Regions from separate parts of the Homo sapiens genome. Here all the other regions are linked to region 2. Evidence: promoter capture Hi-C in 16 types of primary human blood cells and fetal thymus (Javierre and others, 2016). All regions are on one chromosome and are shown on one strand. Each heading gives the region's core, a stretch centred on a gene start or on the middle of the fragment in contact. The rest is flanking DNA. Distances are from core to core; before and after follow the strand shown.

Region 1 (4,162 bases), core at 50-2,549, 92 kb after region 2:
CTCCCAAGTTGGGGCAGGGCTGGGTACAGCATTCTCTCCAGTTTAGAGCCACCTTGTTTCTTTTCTTATGGTATCAGCCTGGACTCTGATAGTTTCTGTGTTTTCTTGAGTTGGTTCATGTTCTGTTAGATTCCAACTCTTTCTAGATGTGTCTATGCTATCTCTAAAGCTTTAATTGCCTGCTGAATTGGTTTTGAATGGACAGAACTAAGATTCTCCGCTCACTTATGTCTGATTCCTAAAGTCAAGACATGACAGGTGTTGGTTTTTCTTAGTCCTTTATTTTCTTTCAATTCTTTTTTCATTGGTTTCCACCCTGCCCCACTATGTTTTGGTTTAAGAAGCTATCTTCCCTAGGCTCATGTTCTTTAATTACTTATGGATTAATTATACCATCCCACAGAGGTTGTGTATACACTGTGGGCCTCTTAAAATAGCTTTTAGAGGAGACAGACATAAGCCCATTTGTCTATTAGACAGCCCAGGTTGCCCCACCCCTATAGATAGTTCCCTTTGCACACCCACCCCCCAGCCACCCACTCATCCACTGTAAGTAGCTCCCCTCCCCTGTACCATAGGTAGCTTAGGAAATGCTGTTTCCCTAGCTGGTTCTGGCATGGGTGTGCAAACTTCCCTGCCTGCCTGATGTTTGAGAATGGCATGTTCCTCCTATCAGAAAGATATTTTTCTGACTCTGTGAGCTCAAGGAATTTTAATTGATGTTTACAAGACTGGTTGGATATTCCCTCTCTCCTCTCTACTTCTTCATAAAAATGTGGAGTTTCAGGTAAGTGGATCCCTCTCCTGGAGCACGTTCCACAGTGCGTCAAATCATATCCATCCCAATAGAACATTTCACTGGAGGTAGGTTCAAAACATCCAGTCTCCTAAGTTCCCAACATCCCACAGGCAGTAAGCAAGCCTGTAGCTTGGAAAGGTGACTTCACACATAATGGAAGTTGGATCTGGTATTAGTGGAACCAGGGACATAAGTTGGATCCTGGGTAGACCGTTGCTGCTAGTGCAAACTCATTAGCAAGAAAAATAAATGTAATGGGATAATGGTTGTGGGGTTCTATTCCTGTCAGTGACAGTACTGATGGAAAATAATAGAGGTATGTTTACATTTAGATGTTGAACCAGGAGGAGGGGAATTCATTACAAATGCTACTTGCTAACTGTAACTTTTCACAATCAGTTTGTTTAAACCGGCAGAGACCCTGATTGAGAGCAATATCTAGTGCTGGTCAAAGAGGGTGAGGCCAAGCACATAATAGCCAGGCCTCTGTGTATATAGTTTTAAACCTATAAAAATTACTTCAGGGCTTGGCGCGGTGGCTCACGCCTGTAATCCCAGCACTTTGGGAGGCTGAGGCTGGCGGATCACGAGGTCAGGTGTTCGAGACCAGCCTGGCCAACGTGGTGAAACCCCATCTCTACTAAAAATACAAAAATTAGCCAGGCATGGTCGTGGGTGCCTGTAATCCCAGCTACTCAGGAGGCTGAGGCAGGAGAATTGCTTGAACCTGGGAGGCAAAGGTTGCAGTGAGCCGAGATTGCGCCACTGCACTCCAGCCTGGGTGACAGAGCAAGACTCAGTCTTGGAAAAATAAAAAAGAGAAAAAACTTCACGAAGACAAGACACATGAGGAATTGCTGACATACCTTATCTCCCCTTCTCACTTCTGATGGACAAGAGACTAGTCCTTAACAAGTTACTCTTATCTGTAAGGTCCCCCAAAATAAATGTGCGCACAGAAGACAACTATCAAGAGAACAGTTATTACTCAGAGCTCTCCACTGGGCCACGTGAAGCCTGTTGCCTAATTCTTCAAAAAGCTATCCTGATTTTTGTAAAGAAGTCAGTTGGGCATTTGTAACTTCCTGCTCTTTAGGACTTTGCTACTAAACTGGGGACCATGAATTGACAGAATAGGCATAACTCAGGAGGTTCCTAGAAATGTAGATGCTCAGGCCCTACTCAGGACTTGCTGAATCAGAATCTGCTTTGTAACAGGGTCCCCAAGTGATTCATATGCATGTTAGAGTTTGAAAAGAAGTACCCTAGGTCAGTGATTCTCAAGCAGATGCCCACTCAGGGTTTCTTGTTAGCCTTATGAAACAGAATGAGTCTGGAGATGCTAAAACTTCTCCTCAAGAGGACAGTGCCCAAAACTATGCCTTACCTTTGCAGGAACAAGATATGGAGAAGCTGGCCCTATTTTCTTTCATCAATCCCTTTAGAGATAGGGTCTCTTTTTTTCCCTCAGAAGAAGTCTGATGGCCAGTCAGGAGGAGACTTAATAGTCCTATCACCAGAGTCATTATCTAGTGTCAGTATCACTAGAGTTAAAATTATGAGCAACAGAAAACTGGTTCTCCATATCCTGGATGAGGGGCAGGGTTAGGGATGGGTGGTATAAGCTTGACTAATATGTATTTCCTGCTGTCAAGGATCTCTATTCCTTTCAGGAAAGGAAAGATGTTTTCATTCCACCCGAAAATAGTTACTTTCCTACTTTAATGTAAATAGCAAAAGGCTGAGGGATAGATGTCTGTGTTAGTCAGGGTTCTTCAGAGAAACAGAACCAGTAGGATGTGTGTGTATGTAGAGCCACTTAAGGAATAGACTCATGTGATTATGGAGGCTGGCAAGTCCAAAATCTACAGTTCAGGTCTGAATTCCTTCAGACTGGAAACCCAGGGAAGAGCTGATGTTGCAGTTCAAGTCAGAAGACCATCGGCTGGCCAGATTCCTCTTTGCTTGGGGGGAGTTGGTCTTTTCTTCAATTCAGGCCTTCAGCTGATTGGATGAGGCACACTCACATTATGGAGGGAAAGTCCACCAATTTAAATGTTAATCTCATCCAAAAACACCTTCAGAGAAACATCCAGAATAATGTCTGACTGAATATCCCGGCATTGTTTGCCCAGCCAAGTTGACATGTAAAATTAACCATCACAATCTTTCTTTGCCCACTGCCTTTCTTCGCTCACTGCCTTTCTTCATGCTCCTCTTGAGCAATGCTGGCTGCCAGAGCTGTATCTCAAGCCTTTCTTTAGAGCCTCTGTATTGCAGACTTGTCTATCCCACTGGTATTTCAAATTCACTATGGCCAAGATGTCTGATTTTTTTTCTCATCACCTGCCTACCCATAACCCCCCCCCCTTTTTTTTTTTTTTTTGGTATTCAGGACCACAGTCAATGGTATTCTTATCCAATTCATCATGTAAGGCAGTAACCTGAGAGGATCTTCAATGCTTTCATCACCTTCCCTTCCCCCATGTCCTCCTCCCCAGTGCCCTCATTACCAAAGGAAGATGTTTTAAGTACAGCAACACTTGCCTAAGAAATACCAAAACTAAATGTTGTGCGTCATTGCAACTGTCTGTAAACAGATGAAGTATTTTTGTTTTCAAAAAACTAAAACCACACTGTTTGAGTGCCCCTGGTAAGCCAAACACTGACTGGACCTAACTGATGATGCTTTCCTCACCAATGAATAATAGGAATTGAGTAAACCAACCTTGTCAGACCTATGGATTCATTCTATGTTAGCCAGAGTGCTAGTTTTTAATCCTCAATTAGTATAACCACTATGAAACCTGCTGCCTGGTATTTAAAAACTATTTTTTTCTCTCAGTGAAGAAATCAGTGCATTTCTTCAAAGGCATGCTTTCCTTTGCCTAGGAAGTTAATCGACTAAATGTCTTAGTCCATTTTGTGTTACTAGAACAGAATACCTGAGACTGGACAATTTATAAACAAAATAAATTTGGCTCATGGTTCTGGAGGCTGGGAAGTCCAAGATTCAGGGTCCGCCTGTGGTGAAATCCTTCATGTTGCATCATCCCATGGTGGAAGGCATCACATGGTGAGAGAAGGTGAGAGTGCACAAGGTACAGCGAGAAAAAGAGGGCCAAACTCTTGGGCTAACTAGTCCACCCCTGTGATAATGGCATTAATCTATTCATGAGGAAAAAGTCCTCATGACCTAATCACCTCTTAAAGGTCTTACCTCTTTTTTTTGAGATGGAGTTTCACTCTTGTTGCCCATGCTGGAGTGCAATGGTGCAATCTTGGCTCACCGCAACCTCTGCCTCTCGGGTTCAAGAGATTCTCCTGCCTCAGCCTCCTGAGTAGCTGGGATTACAGGCATGC
Region 2 (4,736 bases), core at 2,199-4,698:
GGAAAAGAAGCTGGATTGGCTAGCACAGTAGCTATGGTACATGTTGAACCTGAAGTGTTCAATCGTGAAATACCCAGGAGCAGATAAGCTATGGGACAGGAGTTCAGGGAAGGAAGAGGATTCAAATCAGAGACTTGAGAGTTTTCTATAGATAAGGGACAGCTGAAGTCCTAGAATGAGAAAGAGAGGGAGAGAGTACCAAGAGCCCCAAAGTGATGAACAGTGAAACCTTTCAAAACCAGATGTTTGCAAGAATATGAGCACAATGAAAGGGATGGAAAAGCAGCAATCAGTATGGGATAAAAATTCAGGATCCAATAGCATCGCTGAAAACATGAAAGGAGTTTCAAAAAGGAATGGGTGATAGATGATGAATGATGGTTAAGGACCAGAGCATTTTAAAGATACCACTAGACCAACAAATCAGCAGGGTTATTTCCCCTCTCAACTATTAACATACTATATATAATTATTTAATTGGTGGTTAGGCAGATAAAAAGAGTTTGTGGTTGTAAGACATAGTCTATTTTATGTTTTATAATGACAAAAAAGGAGATACATCCAGATGCTGCTATTCTCTGTGTAGAGAGTTATTTAAAAAATGTTGCTAATATGGATCAATTTTGAGTAATGTCACTTAGAATATGTACTCTTCTGGGTGCTATATAATAGAAATAACACTGCTGATGCTATGGATTGGTGATGTATTATGAATGTGTGGGTAACCTATCAAAGTGTACAAGTCCTAATAAAAGTTATAAAGAACATCCAAAGGCATATAAAACTGCCACAGGGACTATTAAGTAATTCATGGGATACTGCCAAGCACACACAAAAATGGTATGTTTCTGAATTCACAAGAATGCTTGGGAAGTGATGCTTCTCACCCGCTCATGAAACACTCAGTTTATGTCCAGGATCTAACACGAGCCACACTTGCAACTACTTTCATTTTAGCTGTGAACCATCTGGGAAGGTACCACAGATAGAAAGCAATGTTTCTGGTCAGTTTGAGTATTAAAATCACTCAGATCTGACTGATGGAGATGGCATTAGAGGAAGTCAAGTGCTTTTTCCAGTGTCACTGAAGCTGGCCTCTGGAATAGAGGTGTGAACTACTGTGCAAGAAATGCCCTCTACTTCCCCCAAATGGAAATAAATTAATAATTAAGAGTGACTATGGACAGATTCAGGTTTTGTGGGACCTACAACTTATATATAACTTGGGTATCCTCTCTAAGAAATAAGAAAGCAAAATTGCAAATACAGGACTGAGTATGAAACTGGTTATTTATTTAGAATGAGAACCAGAAGCAACCTACAGTTATAAGGCCATAAAGCATAAAGTTTATCAGCTACATGGTAATTTCACCTCTGCTAATGACCAAGTATGGAGCATAAAGTATAGAAAGGGAGGAAGAGCAGGTAATCAGGCAGAGGAAAAATAAAAAAACCGCGCTCCTTAAGGAATTCTGGAGACTGAACAAGAAAAAGACTAAGAATAAAATCCCAGAAAGAACTCTGAATTGCAGAATACAGATGGTATGGAGATGGGAGAGGACCCAGAACCCCTAGTCAATGTATATAACACATTGTCATCATATTTATTTTCCAGTGATCTACAACCATATTGCTTTTAGGAGGCTTGCCTAGTGGGACCAGATTTTGGGAAACAGCAGTCCACTTCATTGCAGGTACTCAACAAGTGTTTTTTGAATGAATAAATAAATACATAAATAAATAAAGAGAAACAAGCTGAAATACTCCTTTTTCTTACTCTCCACCAGGAGCTGCTTTCCTCTGATGCTCCAACATACATGTATGTTTTTGCTGGTACTGGCTGGAACTGGCAAAGCAACAGTTCATGCCAATCTCTTCTCTTGGCCTGTTCAGGATAAACAATGTTGGGTTCAGATAAAGCTATCTCTACCCAACATTAATTTGTAGCATGTTCAGAGTCTCCTCGAAAGATTTATATATAAAAATGGCTACTGTGGGGCCACTCTACTTACTCCCTCCCATCAGCTTTCTCTTTCTGAATCAGATCCTGCAGGGATAACTCAGAAATTATTAACACCTAGTAGGGGGAGGATAGGTCAGTGTGGTATTCTAGCCAGGGATGAAAGGCAACAAAATTCCTAATTTTCAAACATTTTACCAATGATGGCAACATAGGCGACAATATATCAATCATGATGAGGCTTCCAGGAAGATATTGGAAAGCCTCATGCACCACTCACTTGGTTAGCCACAAATCCAAGCCAGGACCAGGGGCACCCTGGCCCACCAACTGGCTCATCAGAAGACAAGATTCAGGTGGTGGGAGCTCTTAGTGAAAGGAGGAAGGAGGATACAACAGGGCACTCAGCCCCTGCTTCATAAAGGGATTCTCTTTGGACAATAAATGTCCTACACCTTCCTGCAAGTTCATATATATATATACACACACACAGTTCATATATATATATATATAAACACAGTTCATATATATATATATAAACACAGTTCATATATATATATAAACACAGTTCATATATATATATAAACACAGTTCATATATATATATAAACACAGTTCATATATATATATAAACACAGTTCATATATATATATAAACACAGTTCATACACACACACACACACACACACACACACACACACACAGGAATAGTTTAAGAGCTCACCCCCTCTTCTCCTCTTTTTTTTTTTAACCTTTTCTTAAAGGAGTCTACCTCCTTCCTCTTCACCTACTAAATTTTCTACGGAAAATAGAGAAGAGCAGGACTGGAATAACACTACTGCTCCCTCAATACTACAGAAATCTGTATCCTGATGTTCTGTTTAGGGCAAAGGATATGAAATCAGTGAGGCAAAGCAGCCACCTCAGGAATTAGTACTGCAGGTCTTAAATGGGAGAAAATCGTTCAGCCACTTACAAGCTAGGTGATTCGACCTCAAGAGAGTTATTGAAACTCCCCAGACCTCAGTTTCTTGGTTTTGCAAAACGGGGATGAATTTAGTTCCCACCTCACAGGACTGTTGAGGACTGAGAAAATCCACGTAAAGTGCTAAATACAACTGCACAGCAAGAGCTAATTAAATATTAGTATTTAATAGTAGTAGTAGTAAAATTATTGTGTCTGCCTCCCCCAGTCACACCACCAGCAAAACTGGCACAACCCCCACTCCTACCTCGCAGGATATGGGGCCAAGCCATGGCTACACTACACTCTCGCATGCATGAGAGACCCCCAAACACCACAAGAGCTACTGTAGGTTCCCCTACCCCTCACTGGCCAGGGTCCCCCAGGCCACCGCTACGGTCCACACTGACCTGAAATGCCACCTCCGATCACGACTACGTCGAACATGTGGCCCGCGATACTCGCCTTCTCTTGATTCTCCATGCTTTGGCTGACACGCTCCTGGGTCGTAGGCACAGGAGTGGGGACGGCAAAGGGTGGGAAGGACCCTTCTATCAACTCCCCCGGGGAGCCCGGGGGCGGAGCCGATCCTTCTTTTGATACCCGGGGGGAGCCGGGCACTGTGGGCGGGGCGAACCCTTTTGCTGATACTCCGGGAGCGCCCAGGGGCGGAGCTGATGTTTCAGCTGATACCCGGGGGGAGCTGGGCACTGAGAGCGGGGCGGACCCTTGTACTGACACTCGGCGAGAGTTATTAGGTTTAGAATGTCCTTGTGTCGGCAGCTGGAAAGGATTACTGGGTGCAGGAGGTTCTTGTATTGAACCCCGCGGAGTGTCAGGCACTGAGGTGGGGGTAGACGCCTGCCTTGACACTGGGGGGATGTTATGGGGTGCAGGAGGTGCTTGTGGCGACACTGGGGAAATGTTATTGGGTAGAGGTGGTCCTGGTACCAAACCCCAGGGGAAGCTGGACACTGAGGATGCGGCAGACCCTTGTACTGACACTCGGGGGTGTTACTGGGTGTAGGAGGTGCTTGTATTGACACTTGCGAAAGGTCATTGGGTATAGGAGGTCCCCGTACAAATATCCAAGTGTAGTCGGACACTGAGGTCAGGTTGGAATCCGGGGGCAGGGTCGGTCCTTTTACCAAACCCCGTGGGGTGCTGAACCCTGAGGAGAAGGCAGACCCTTGCAATGACTCTACGGGGGAGTTTACGGGCGGGGTAGGTCCTGTTACTAATACCCAGGGAATGCCGGTGTCCTGATTGGAGGCTGTGACGGCCCCATCGGAGGAGTTCGAGCTGGTGGTAGACTTGGGGATCCGACTGCTCGGGTTGTAAGCGCTGAAACCCCGGAGGCCACTCTTGGAGTCGGAGTCAGTACTCTCGCTAAGACCGGTAGTGCTGATTGGGGAGTGTATGCTGGAGCTCCAGGAGGCGGCCTCGGCAGTTGAGGACGTGCTCCACTGGGAACTGGCTAGCGGATCCGAGACGGACCGCCACTCAGAACGGACGCTCCATTCGGACAGGCTGTAGGAGGTGTCGTCCAAGCTGGAGTCCGGGTTCGGGACCTGGGCAGTTGTGCCCCCGGCTTCGGGCGGGCCCTCCGCCTTGCGCTCGGTGCCGGTGCCGGTACTGGTGCGGGTACTGGTGCCGGTGCCGGTACTGGTGCGGGTACTGGTGCCGGTGCCGGTACTGGTGCGGGTACTGGTGCCGGTGCCGGTGCCGCCGGGGAAGGAGGCTGAGGCGTTTGTGCTCATGTTTCTGGAGCACGCTGGGCGCTGGGGGCGGTGTTCTGCTTCCCGCAGCCCTTC
Region 3 (4,118 bases), core at 304-2,803, 99 kb before region 2:
CCCAGGGGTCAGCAGGCATGCTAAAATGACGCTTTTCATAGCTTGACCTCAGAAGGTTGGGTTCCCTATTTGAAAGGGCTCTATGAAAAAGTGGATGGGTGAAAAATCTAGAATAAAGATATGAAAGCGGGGAAGGCTCTGATAATTTCTATAGGCCTTTGGTCCACCCAGCAGACTATGGCCCAAGAACCTTTCCCTGGGGCTTGTACCTGCGGGAAGTGCTACTTCCTCTGCCTTAGGTGTCCTACCCTGTTGTCAGCCTGGAGAATTTCTACATTTTGTCTTTAGCCACTCAGCTCCAGGATTTCCTTCTTTGAGAAGCCAAGGAGAGGAGAGTCACCCGGGTCCAGTGAGGCTCTTTCTCCACCCCAACCCATCCAGGCTGGCAGTGCCAAAAACGCCATATGCACAGCTTAGTAGGGTGACCCAGATAGGCGGGCAGGGAAGAGCAGCAGGGTCCCAGTGTTGCTGGCAGATTATTCAATCAAGGTTCTGCAGAGGCTAATCCAGGTGGATTCAAGGGCCCAGTATTCAGCAGGCGTGCAAAAAGTCATATTCAACCAGGGAGCAAGACATCAGCAGCACCTGGGTGCCAGCCATATCCCTGCCCCAAAGGGATCTGTGATGAAAACAGGGTAGTTAAGGTGCCCAGTGCAGACCACAGGCCTCGGACTAGATCTCAGATCCCATCCTCTCACAGAGATGGGTCTGCCTCAGGGTACAGGACCAAGGCTCCATGCCCAGTAGCCATTAGCAATTCCTTATCCTCTGCTCCTTATGTGTAGGGCTCTCCTGTCTGAGCCTAAAAGTGTGTGTTTCCTAGATTTCCTGCTATTATCCTCTGCCAACCCATCCCCACAAAGACACCCTGGACCTGTTTGCCTGAAACCCAGACTGAGGATGGCTAAGTCCTTGTGCGGCAAGCCCATCTTCTCCGCTAACTGTTTCCTGACCACTAAGGCTGTCGTTTCCCTTTGCTCACCCTGGCCACCCCACCATACTGAGTCTGTCCCTGTCCCAGGAGAGGGCATTGTGCCATACATGGGCCCCTTCTCCCTGTCTCAGAGGGACTGCTGTGCAGAACCCTCATTTCCCTCAATGCCGATCCGTGAAGGATGTGATCTGCTGAGTGCTCAAAAGCACCCACCTGATGCCAAACGACGCTTACATTATCCCAATACTGTCTTCTGTCTTTACCTAACTGGAAATTTTTACCATGGATTCATGTGTGGGGGTGGGGAGAAGGTTAGCCCAACTCTGAGAAGCCAAGAGCACCCTTCCTGGGTACACCCGGTGTCAGTCCTAGCCCTTGGAGTAAGCTGGAGAGAGACTGGATTTTTTTTGTTTTTGTTTTCTGTGCTTGTTAATTTTAATTTGTTAATTTTGCATTTCAGCCAGATATCCAGCTTCCCTGAGAGGCCAGGCTTGTCATAAATGATCGGATGAAATAAATAATGAATAAATGCTTCTCTCTTGGATTCCAGTTTAAATCCAAGAGCCCTGGTGAGATCTGAGGACTGGTTCTGTCAATTATTTCTTCCAGACTGACCTTCGGTTACTAATTGGCTCATTTAAATTCATTCTTTTGAGGGCATGTTACAATGGAAGTGAAATAATTAAAGAGCAGAAAACTTGAATTTGTAGTTGGATATGTTTGAAGGTATGTCATTACCATTATGATACTGGGCACCATATGAAATTGTGGTCCTGGGAAATGACAGTGGGTTTTACTTTTTCTCATGCAAGTGATGTTTCGTAGTAAAACCTGGATCCTTGATGGCTACTTGCTTATCTCTCTATCTATACCAAAAATAGTGGCATAAGGCAGTGCTTGCCAACCTTTTTCACATCACATTACACAGAAAAAAAATGATTGCATTTGTTTTGGCACACTGGGTAAATGGATACAGTTACTGAATGCATGGAAGCTAGTAGCTTAGGGGCTGTGGCCACCCAAGTTCCTATTCCTCTGACTGGAGAACTGATGGCCTCCAGATCTCTACATAGATACAACCCATTCGTGGTGGGGTCTGTCATTTGGGGAGACATTAAACAAGCATTTCAAAAAATATGTAATTGTGAATCTTTATGGAGGGAAAACAAAAGCAGTGATAAGAGCATTCTTTCATATGTTTGTTGGCCATTTGTATATCTTCTTTTGTGAAGTAACTCAGGAATGGAAAACCAAACATCATATGTTCTCCCTGATATGTGAGAGCTAAGCTATGAGGACACAAAGGCATAAGAATGATACAATGGACTTTGGGGACTTGGCGGGGAAGAGCGGGAGGGAGGCGAGGGATAAAAGACAACAAATAGTGTGCAGTGTATACTGCTCGAGTGATGGGTGCATCAGGATCTCACAAGTCTCCACTAAAGAACTTACTCATGTAACCAAATACCACCTGTACCCGAATCACTTATGGAAAATAATTTTTTTAAAGCAGTGATAAGAGATTATAATGGAGAATTAATTGTCCGGGGGGTTTCTCAGGAAATGCATCTCTGAGGAAGTGCTATTTCATCCCTTGGGAAATAACCTAAAGGATTTAGCCAACTGAAGAATGGAGAAAATAACCTTCCATGGAGAGGGAACCAAGACAGAAAAGAACTGGATATATCTGAGGATTTATGAGAACGAGATGGCTGGAAGGTTCTGAGGGAGAGTGGAGTGACCAGAGACGAGGGTAGGGAAACAGGCAGAAAAAAGAGCATGCAAGGCCTTGGGAGCCACAGTGCGTCATATCCAAAGTTCATTGAGCAGCTATTGAAAGGGCTTGAGTCTGGACTGACAGGATCAGATTTGCAGTTTTAAAAGATCTACTTGGGCTGCTCGGGTGGTGTAGTAAAAGGGAAACCAGGGCATTTTAGCAAGAGATGACTAATCAGAGAGGAGTTACTAGTGGAGAAAAGTAATTTGAGATGTATTTTTGAAGTAGGAATCATAGTAGACCACAAAGAGATCCTTTATTTCTTTAAAGCTATCATTTATTGTTAGTACTGTAACAACTTCACTTATGTGATCCTATTGAATGCTCAGAACAACTGAACAGCTAGCTCCATTTAACAGATAAGAAAATGCATGTTCAATACCAAGATTCAAACCCAGGCCTAGCCAGCTCCAGAAACCTGAGCTTTTAACATTTACGCTTTCCTACAAAACAGGGTGACTTAACAAAGTATCTGTTTCTAAAGACAGTTCTTAGGGCTAAGAAATCAGAACGTGCCTTTAGAAATAATAAGTATTCCTAGTTGTGTGTTAAAGGTAGGAAGCTGAAACCAACAGACTTTCCTGTCCCTAAGCTAAACAATACTGAACCAGTCAAAATAACTTGGCTACTTGTCCCAGGAAATACTTGCTCCTGGAATACAAAGCTTTGAAGTAACACAAATAGATTATTTATCAAGACTAACAGCTTGCTCATCAAGACTTGCTTTAAGACACCACTTTACTTTGCCTACCAATCCACAACTACTCTATCATAAACTTTTCCAATTCCAACCAGTTTTTTGCCTTGCAAGATCTGCCTTAAAAACAACCCCCAAATTGAAAACCCTGTGAACCCTCCCCCAATTTTTCCACTTTGAGACACTAGTAAGACTGTCAATGCGATGTTCTTCCTTATGCAATGTGTCTGATAAACTTAGCTTTTCTTGATTGACATGTTTTCTGATGATCTTTTGGGAAGTCAATGGTTGGCAAGTGCCTGGTAGGATACTCTTGCTTTGGGGCTTGGCCATCTAAAGGGATGCCTGAGCAGGTTCATGTGAAAGTCCAGTATTCAGTTGTGTGCAGAGTCTGAAAGAAATTCAGTTATTGGGGTTAAAGAATAGAAATTTCTCTTCTGTCGTTTATTAAAGGTACAAACTTGGAATCTAGTTTCGTGCTTATGTAAGACAAATACATTTGCTTCTCAGGATCCCAGATGCAAGCCTTTTCAGGCTTTGTAGAAGACAAAGCTGGATAGAAGCTATATTGGGGTGTGTGTGTGATAGGGAAGAGGGTAGGCATTGGTGGAAGCAGGGCAGAGCCATGTGGTTTTAAATCATTAAAAGTTCTACTTGCTGCTCCAAATTCAGGTGCCTGGAACAGCAGGGATTTAAGGACAGACCAATTG

What was found. Contacts are between HindIII fragments. The CHiCAGO score rates a contact against its expected background, and 5 or more counts as called.
Region 1: a fragment that was not itself captured here is called in contact with the fragment with the promoter of MAOA in region 2 in 1 of 17 cell types (M2 macrophages); the score reaches 6.9 in M2 macrophages.
Region 3: a contact is called between a fragment that was not itself captured here and the fragment with the promoter of MAOA in region 2, in 1 of 17 cell types (M2 macrophages). The highest score is 5.3, in M2 macrophages.

What each region holds. Positions count from the first base shown.
Region 1 is chrX:43,561,752-43,565,913 of GRCh38, reverse strand. No RefSeq gene overlaps it. Among named protein-coding and RNA genes, the nearest start is that of MAOA, 92 kb to the left of the region's middle. The HindIII fragment of the contact is 2,255 bases long and covers 172-2,426 here.
Region 2 is chrX:43,655,011-43,659,746 of GRCh38, reverse strand. MAOA (monoamine oxidase A) reads right to left here and starts at 3,448. Exons shown (of 15, transcript NM_000240.4): 1 at 3,333-3,448. The coding sequence starts at 3,405. RefSeq lists an enhancer at 4,555-4,614 and a silencer at 4,546-4,736. The HindIII fragment of the contact is 10,667 bases long and covers 1-4,736 here.
Region 3 is chrX:43,752,566-43,756,683 of GRCh38, reverse strand. No RefSeq gene overlaps it. Among named protein-coding and RNA genes, the nearest start is that of MAOA, 98 kb to the right of the region's middle. The HindIII fragment of the contact is 3,648 bases long and covers 1-3,377 here.